2 separate regions of the Homo sapiens genome follow, and region 1 is linked to region 2. The links are contacts of gene promoters, found by promoter capture Hi-C in blood cells and fetal thymus (Javierre and others, 2016). All regions are on one chromosome and are shown on one strand. Each heading gives the region's core, a stretch centred on a gene start or on the middle of the fragment in contact. The rest is flanking DNA. Distances are from core to core; before and after follow the strand shown.

Region 1 (4,702 bases), core at 472-2,971, 39 kb after region 2:
CCTCTTTCTCAGTTTTTTTTTACATCTTATAATTTTTTTTTCATGTCTTGTTCTTGATTGTTTCTTGAATGGAAGCTTTGGTTATAGATCATCACCTGGTGGGCTTGGCTTTACTTTTCTGTGAGTATTTTGAGAGCTAGCTCTTAGGCCAGGAATATTACCAATGCTAGAATTAGTAGAGCCAAAATTCACCTTAGGAAGCCTGGTTCTCTCCAGATGTGTTTGTTCTCTTTGAAGACATGCCCCCTTTTTATTTTAGGGGAAGAATAAAGAGGAAAAGTGGAATTAACTAGACCTTTCTTTTTTTTTTTTTTTTTTTAAGTGGCAGGGTCTCACTATATTGCCCAGGCTGGTCTTGAACTCCTGGATTCCAGGGATCCTCCCGCCTCAGCCTCCCAGAGTGCTGGGATTACAGGCATGAGGTACTGCGCCTGGCCTAGAACTTCCTTATAGAAAGAAGTTTAATTAACTCTGGTTTCTAGGCCTTCATTTCTTCTGACCATGAATTCTCTCTGATCCAGTGTTCTATTGGGACCATGATTTGTCCCTCATATTCACTGCATGCCTGCCTCCTACCATGTGTTATAGGTTATAGTTTTTTCTGTTTATTTTTAAACCTTTTATTATGGAAAATTGCATACCTACCCAAAAGTAAAGTGGTAGATGAATCTGTCTTTACTGTCAATCAGCTTTAACAGCTTCAACAGTTAATAGCATGGCCAATGTTGTTTTATCTTTTCCTTCAACCCCTTAGTTTTAACCAAATCTCAGATGTTATGCAATCTACAAATATTTTAGTATGCATTTATAAAAGATAAGAGCTGCTTTTAAAAGACATAATCATAGTACCATTGCTACATCTAGTAGAATAAATCTTTAATATCATCAAATAAGCAGATGACCTCATTAGTTTTTTTATTTTTAATAGTTTGAAGTGAGGTCTATACAAGGTCCTGCATTCTATGCAGTTAGCTGATCAGTCTTTTAAACTAGAGTTCCTTCTCTTGAAATCGATTAGTTTTTCTTTGTGATACATTTTTATCTACTCAGGCATTCAGAAATTTAATTCTTTTAATTTATTGCTTATTTCCTTAAAAAAAGGATTTTTGGGGGGATCTTGGAGGATGAGGAGACAACCTGAACAGGAAACCTTGATTTTTAATTATCAATGATTAAAATTAGAAATATTTTTGACAGAAAATGCATATTATAATAGAGACTCTTGTACCCACTAACATTTTTTCCCTTGGCTTTTAAAATGAAAGATTAAACTGGATAGCCAAAGAGTACAAAGAAAAAGCAAAGGAAAAATGTGTGGCTACCTTTTAAATTTTCATCAGGTTTGGATTCTACTAAACACTATAAATCTTTTTGATACTCTAGGGATATTCTTATAAATGTGGCCAGCTTGTGTTAAAATCATGTTGTGTATATGAATTTGACAAACAGAAGTAGATATTCTGTTAAACATTCTGTGTTTTCATGATAGTGAGTTATGGTTGAGTGCTCTCAGTGTACTGAGTCGTTTAGAATATATTCAGTACAATTGTTATTCTGAAAGAACATCCCTTTTATCTTCATAACATATCACAATTGTCAAGAAAAAACACTAGCTTAAAAGTTAACACTGGAAATAAATAGTGGTGGATGCAGATAACATTTTGGGGCTTAAGAGTTTTGGAACCACACGTTTTAAGTTTAAAGTGCTCTCTTTAGACCAGAGGATCTCTAGGATTTCCCTTATCTTTGTTTATTACATTGGAACAGACAGAGACTCAGTTGTGCTATAGAACATCTAGGAGTAGTTTAAAGAGGTTTCAAAGTCCCTAGTTAATAACTAATATTCCTCGTATTTCTTGATGAGCCTTCTCAGTAGAACTTTATCTTAAAACTTAGAATTTCTTCTTCTCTTGGTTAAATTGTGAGAACTGTGTCTTATAAACGTTGCTGTCTTAGAATTAATGACGAGGCCGGGCACAGTTGCTCACGCCTGCAATCCCAGCACTTTGGGAGGTCGAGGCAGGAGGATTGCTTGAGCCAAGAAGTTCGAGACCAGGCTGGGCAACATGGCAAAACCCCATTTCTACAAAAATAGAAAAAATTAGCCACGTGTGATGGTGTGCGCCTGTGGTCCCAGCTACTTGGGAGGCTGAGGTAGAAGGGTCAGTTGAGCCCTGGAGGTTGAGGCTACAGTGTACCACTGCACTCCAGCCTGTGTAAGAGTTGAGACTCTGTCTCTATTAAAAAAAAAAAAAATTGTTTTTAAAAAGAAATAACAATGGGTAGAAATTTAGGAGTCTGGATTTCTATCCTGGTGTTGTCGTTATCTCTGTGTCCTTGACTTTATCACTTAATTCTGCTCTCAATTTAGGCATTGAATTAGAATAGCGACATACACTATTTTATATAATGAATAGGAAGGGGAGAGAATTAAGCCAGCCTTGCACTGCCTTCTTTAAATAAAGTCTCATGTACAAAACTGATAGGCTAAAAAGATAAAGGAGGAACTGTGCTGACTGAAGTGTTTGTGAGGTGGGAGAGAGTTTTGTAGCGTTGTCTGCCTTCATTCCCCAGAATAGTCCCAGGACATCTCTGGTGGATTTCTAAGTGTGAATACCTCTAATCTACATGAATTTGGAAGTTTTTTTCTGTCTCTGAAATTTTTTGAAGCAATCATGATACTGTGAAATCTCTGCATTTCTGTGGTGGACCACTTTTACAAAATAGCGGTAATGGTAGAAGTATTTATGGGTATGTATTAATAGATGATGTTTAATCTCAAATGTGTTAAATACTATGGGGTGTGTGTGTGTGTGTGTGCGCGCGTGTGTGTGTGTGGCTGGTTTGGTGCTACTGCTGCGAATCTTTTTTCTTACTGTAGTAAATATACATAACGTAAAAATTTTTATCTTAACCATTTTAAGTATACAGTTCATTGGGATTAATTGTGTTCACATTGTTGTACATTTGTCACCATCATCCATCTCTAGAACTTTTTCATCTTCTCAGATCGAACTTCTGTACCCGTTAAGCAATAAGTCCTTATTCTCCCTTCCTTCTAGCCCTGGCGCCCACCATTCTACTTTCTGTCTCTATGAATCTAACTACTTTTTAGGTACCTCTCATAAGTGGAATCATAACAATATTTATTTTGTGTCTAGCTTATCTCATTCAAAATAATGTCTTCAAGGTTCATTCATGTTGTAGAATGTATCTTTCTCCACCCTTCTTTTTAAGGGTGAATAAATATTATTTTATTGTTATGTGTATGCAGCATTTTGTTTAGCCATTCATCTGTTGTTGGACATTTGGGTTGTTTGTACCTTTTGGCTCTAGTAAATAATGATGCTGTGTTTGGGATAATCTTTAAAGCTTAGATCATTGTACTTCTTAATGTTACAGTTTAGGGATATTCAGTCTTATCTTTAGTCCCACATTCCACCTCAGTGTACCTGAGGCTGTGGTACACTTCCATAAGTCAGCAATTCACTGGAGAAGTGATTCTCGACAGAGGTGGCAGTGGTAATAGGAGTGGTAGAACTGATTTTCTTTGTGGGCCCCTACCCCCTTGAGATTCACATTCCCTTCAAGCTGGATGTTTATAGCTGAGGTGGTGGATGCTAATTCTGGAATATGTATTTGCATAGATTAATGATACATGCTGTTGAGTTGTGTGCTTTTGGTGTTATAAATCATCTTTGTTCTTGAATCAGAGACTGAGGCAGACATTAGAAGATAGCCCTGGTTTTTTAACCCACAGTACTTCTAAGTGCTGCTCCTTGAAGATACATCTGACTTCTTAGCTATTGATGAGTTTTCCAACCATTTCTAATCAGGCAGTTATGTTTTTGAGTTCTGATTTCAATCAGAATATTATAAGGCCTTTTATCTTTGCAGTATGTATGTTTCTGGAAACTTTTATCTATTATTAAGGAAATTTGCTATATGAAGGTAACTTTTTTCAGTGTGTTTTTTTTTAAATTATCTACAACTGAGTAACAGTATGATTATATTATTGTTCTTGAGCAAATTTGTTTTCCCCAGAGTTAATAACTGCCTCATATATGGTTCACTGTGAATCTTCTCTCAACATAGTTAAATACATCAGTTGGTCACTCAGTTCTCCCCCTCTCCCCCCCCTTTTTTTCTTTTTTTGAGTTAGCTATCCATCCATACTCTTGCTTTAATCTGGAGTGGTTGCACTTGAGGTCTGCTTCACAGGGCTGTTGCCATTGTTTTGTGAATGCCTGATTCTGATTATCTGTTTCCGGGATTTCATCTTTTTTTATTTTTCACTTTCCCACTCTCATTTTGGTAGAGTATATATTCTAAGTCTTCCTGAGATAAGAATTCTTTCTTAGTAGTTTTTAATTATTTCTCAAGCTTTTTGGGTGTTTGTATGCCTGAATATGCCTTTGTCTTTTTTCAGACAGGATCTTGCTCTGTTGCCCTGGCTGGAGTAAATGGTGCTATCATAGCTCGCTGCAGTCTTGAACCACTGGACTCAAGTGATTCTCCTACCTTAGCCTTCTGAGTAGCTGGCACTATAGGCATGTGCCACCATCCCTGGCTCATTTTTAAATTATTTTGTAGAGGACAGGGTCTTGCTATGTTGCCCAGGATGGTCTCGAACTCAAGCTATCTTCCTGCCTCGGCCTCCCAGAGTGCTGGAATTACAGGCATGAACCACTGCCTGGCCTTG
Region 2 (4,885 bases), core at 795-3,294:
TTCTTAAAAATAAGATTAGTTATATTTTTATTGTATTTCTCTTTTAATTCAGTTTCCCAATTTCCCTTAATGAATTTGCTAGGTTGAAGGTTTTCCTATATATATATAAATATAACTATATATATACATATTTTTTTTAATAGATGGAGTCTTGCTCTGTCACCCAGGCTGGAGTGCAGTGGCACAATCTCGGCTCACTGCAACCTCTGCCTCCCAGGTTCAAGCGATTCTCCTGCCTCAGCCTCCCTAGTAGCTGGGATTATAGGTACCTGCCACCACACCGGCTAATTTTTGTTTTTTTCTGTATTTTTAGTAGAGACAGGGTTTCACCACGTTGGCCAGGCTGGTCACTAACTCCTGACCTCACGTAATCCACCCGCCTTGGCCTCCCAAAGTGCTGGGATTACAGGTGTGAGCCAACATCCCCAGCCTTCTTTAATATATGTTATTTATAATATTGGATGTGTGTGTGTGTGTGTGTGTGTGTGTGTGTGTGTGTGTGTGTTTAAATTAATTTTCTAGTAGTTGCCTAATCTGTAGTGCTGCTTCTAGGATTTCTATTAAAAGAATATATATTAAATTCTTATTAAAGGCCAGTTATGATGGCTCATAATTAAGATGCCCTAGGAGCAACAAGAGCTGGGTGGGCTACTGATTTCCAGATGGGAATCTGGCCATGTTTATAAGACCTGGACTTGAAGATATTGGGCAGCCAACGAGGCCCATGGAGGAGAATTCTGGCGGGCTCTCCACTGAAGTACACCTACCTGCTCTCACCTTCAATTTGCCTTTAATGCCTCTCCACTTGATGTTTACGGCTAGCCACTTTTAGGATCTGAGCCATCAAGATGATGGATGAAATTGGGTTTGGAACAAGAAGGCAGGGCTATTTTGACCCAGGACACATTTCCAACATGCTGTGAAGAACTCTCAGCATCAAATAACATCTGGGTGGAAGAAGTTTTGGGAAAGAAGTCTAGCTGTAGATCACACAATGCTTCTAAATGGGAGAAAATGTCCAGCTCCATGGCTTAGATTCTTTGGGAAGTAGGATAACTGGCTATTCCATTTTAGGCAAGGCTGCCTGGCCAGAAACCCATGTCTTACCATTTCGAGTACATTATGGTTGGCTTACAAATCGTAGCCTCATAGAGAACTTTTTCTTCTTTTAGCTACTGTCTTCCTAAAATAAAAGTCTCTGTGCAAAGCAATGGAAGAAACCTCATATTGTTTTTTGGGGTTGTCATTTTATGTAACTTACAATAATGACTACGGCTCGTCTTATACAAGATGTAAAGGATTTGGGAGAGGGAATCCAGTGTGCATTTAGGGGAAGATGGTGATGTAGATAGCATATTTCAGGAGGCTGGGAAGTGTCGAGTGCTTAAATATATGCTTCTCAAATTTAATGGGCATACAAATTACCTGGTGGTATTATTAAAATGTAACCTCTAATTCAGTAGTTTTGGGATGGGTCCATGGACAGCACTTTGGTTAGTTCCCCTTGGGACTCCCCTTTCCCCTCAGAGAAGTGTAGAGGGTTGGGGTATTGGGCTTAAGAGGAGTTCCAGACTGTAACCATAGCTCTAGGTAACTCCCTTCTGGAAGTGATGTGTTAGCGACTGGAGGAGAAAGGGATCCCTGGGATCCTTTTCAGCTTTACTATTCTGATTTGGGGTTCTGAGATTCCAACAAAGTGGACTTTTGGGAGTCACAGACCTCCATGGGAATGATGAAAGCTGCGTACCTTCTTTCCGCACAAATGCAGGCCCACCTTTAATTCTGCAAACCACTTTAGGCCCCGCGGGCCCGCAGCCCTGGTCCAAGACAGCTGTCTGCTTCACAGGTCGCGCACCCAGAGCCGGGCGGTTCTGCAGCTCAGCATCTGGCCCGGGCTGCGCGTCGGGCTCTGGCGGGGGCGTGTCAGGAGGCGTGTCCGGGGCGTGTCGGAGGCGGGGCCAAGGCGGGGGTAAGCCTCGCCCCTCGGCCGTGCGAGAGGCCGAGCTTGCTGCATTGCAGCCGCCGCGGCGCCGCTCGGCTCTTCACTCCCAACAATGGCGGCTCCGAGCCCGAGCGGCGGCGGCGGCTCCGGGGGCGGCAGCGGCAGCGGCACCCCCGGCCCCGTAGGGTCCCCGGCGCCAGGCCACCCGGCCGTCAGCAGCATGCAGGGTAAGGAACGCGGCCGCGCCGAGATCCCAGCCCCCTAGCGCGGCAACCCGCGTCGTCGCGGCCTGCCCCAGCGGACGCCCCCGGACCCGGCTGAGGAAGCCACGGCAGCCGCCGGCTTCTCCCTCTCTCCCTCCCCGGCTTCCCGCCCCGCTCCCGGCCGCCTCCGGCCCGGCTTGGATCCGGGCTCCGGCCCGCATAGGCCCCGGCCGCGGCCTCTGCCTGCGCTTGGCCCCTGGGCCCTACCGGGCTCTCAGCAGGCCCGCAGGGCCCACCTGGTCCGGGACCGCCCCCGCGGCCGTCCCCATCGCCCCCGCCGCTTACCTGGCGCCCGCCCGGCCCCCGTTTCCGGGAACGCGCCGGCTCGGGGCTGCGGCGGAGCGGGAGGGGCGTCGGGCCTGCCCCCTGGTCCCTGACGCCGCTCAGGTAGGCGGCGAAGACAGCGGCCCCGGCCGGCGCCCCTCGGCCCCGCCGCCGCAGTGGGCCCCGCTCAGGGCCATCTTGGCTGTCGCCGGGCACAGCTGGAGCCGGACCACCGAGCTGACCTCGGGCTACGGGGGCCTCTTGGAACCTGCGTTTTCAAACTTTTGCAGGGTTTCTGTGCGCTGGAAGGGATGGGGGTGGGGGGCGGGTTGCCCAGGCCTGTGCCACCTGTAAGGTAGGTAGGCTGCATTGGCCTGGGAGAGGCATTTTGTTCCAGGCCAGGGATTTCTGTGTTAGCATTGCGTGCAGGAAGAAAAAAAAAAAAAAAAAAAAAGAAGACTTAATTTGGTTTAAATGGAGAGATACAGGAAATAGACAGGGGTCAAAGTGATACTGTAGTGTCTGGACATTTGAGGCAGCTCTGCTAATTAATGACTTTCCCCACTGGGAATGCTTATTAGCTGTGTATGGCTTTTGACAGGGGGTGTTGTGAAAATACCAGGCCAGGCCCGAGCCTGTTAGGGACCATTTCCTTAAATTTACTGGGGAATTTTGAGTAGTAATGCTATTTTTAAAACAGGGAATCTCAGAACTCTCTTGACAACTTTAGCAAACTGCTTGTGTTGAATTATTAACAGAATAAGGGTTGGGGTACCCTTGGTAGTCAGTGTGACCATGGTTACTTTTTGATTCCATTCCTCTTAAAGGGCTTCTAGCATTTAGTTAGGTTCAACAGACATTTATTGAATAGTTCATGTTTATAGAGCATGCCATAATTCAGAAAGAAGAGACAGGATTTTATTTATCTTTACATCCCTGTCACCCTCCCCATGAAATAATTTTAATATACATAAAAACCAGTGATAGATATATAGACAGGATGATGTCAGAGCTTAGAGGACACTTTCTGTGCAGGCCCTCAGATAATTCATTCAAATTGAATTAGTTATTGGATGCCCACTGTGTTGCACAGCACATTATACTGATGAAGTATAAGATTGACTTCCTGACTGTACAGCTTTACAATTTAGGTGGTGGTGGTTGGGGCGAAATGAAATGGCAAAATGACAATTTAGGATTGTATTTCTTGTTCCAGATGGGTGACTTACAAAGCTTATAAAAACAAGGTGATTTGTTTGTTTGTTTTATTGGTGGGGAGGCTGACAGTTTGAAATAGCTGGATACAGTGTGTTTTTTTGGTTCAAAAAATATTTATTGAGCATCTGCATAAAACGCTCATGCTGAGTTTATAGAGAATTGAACATCTCTAACTGTCCTCATGGAGGTTATCCCCCTGTGAAGATGGGGGAGGGAAGGCTATTTAGCTAAACATGAAAAATTACTAGTTGGAAAAGTAATAAAGGTAACAAGCTGGGTTTTGTGATAGAAGATAATAGAGGGCAGTCCGCTTGATAAGATGGTCAGAGAAGGCTTGTCTGGAAAGCTAACCCTCTTTTACCTGAAGACGGTTCTAGGCAGAGGAACTGTGTGTATGAAGGTTCCAAAGCAGGGAAGAGCTTGGAGTGTTCTAGGAACTCCTAAGGCAGTGGTTAGGACTTTTTCTGATGCTGTCCGTTCTCCTCAGCCCTTGTATGTTGATACCCAGTTAACTAAACTTTCTAATAAGCAGAACCCATTTTAGAAGGAAAAAGGACCTAAGACCTCTCTATGAATTATTGCCGAATTTTCTTTTTTATCAATATTGTGTCTAGTCTTGATTGATTCAGGAATGTGTTATATCTTGTTCTTGAAACTTTTTTCATTAGTCAGAATGAAGTGCTTGATATTCTCAGGATGTTGTCTAGAACAGTCTGTTATAAAGCTTGAACTTAAGCAGCAATTTAGGATCCTTCTTTTTGGTTTGTTTTGTTCTGTATCTTAATTGTGAGGCCCTTGAAGAGGAAATCTTATAAGAACCCAAAAAGAAAGATTCCCATCCAATTGTATGGGAGTCACACCTCCCATACTGTACTTCATCTGCCAAGGGTCTTCTTTTGCTTTAGATCAGACTTCACAGAGTGGGCCTTAGAAGATGTTTGATGTACTTCCATTCCTTCTCCCCCAATCTAATTATACTTGCCACTCAAAAAACTTCCTTTCTGGGAGTTGTTAATGACCATGCTCTCTGAAACAGCAGGATTCAGTTGTGGAACATAAGGAATGTTTCATGCAGTAGACATTGGACATCCTCTTATGTGGTAAGCACTGTGGTGGGCACTGGATAACCTTGAATACTTTTTCATGGCTTCATGTTTATGGCCCAAGAGTGGTCCAGGCTGGCCAATATTGCTTTCTT

Evidence for each region. Contacts are between HindIII fragments. The CHiCAGO score rates a contact against its expected background, and 5 or more counts as called.
Region 1: a contact is called between a fragment that was not itself captured here and the fragment with the promoter of MAP2K4 in region 2, in 6 of 17 cell types (activated CD4 T cells, naive CD8 T cells, total CD8 T cells and 3 more). The highest score is 9.0, in activated CD4 T cells.

The regions. Positions count from the first base shown.
Region 1 is chr17:12,057,928-12,062,629 of GRCh38, forward strand. All of the region lies in intron 2 of MAP2K4 (mitogen-activated protein kinase kinase 4), which reads left to right. Among named protein-coding and RNA genes, the nearest start is that of MIR744, 22 kb to the right of the region's middle. The HindIII fragment of the contact is 3,297 bases long and covers 74-3,370 here.
Region 2 is chr17:12,018,833-12,023,717 of GRCh38, forward strand. MAP2K4 (mitogen-activated protein kinase kinase 4) reads left to right here and starts at 2,045. Exons shown (of 11, transcript NM_003010.4): 1 at 2,045-2,169. The coding sequence starts at 2,055. It also overlaps a transcript of ZNF18 not described here. RefSeq lists an enhancer at 1,845-2,345 and a silencer at 1,882-2,761. The HindIII fragment of the contact is 6,257 bases long and covers 1-3,700 here.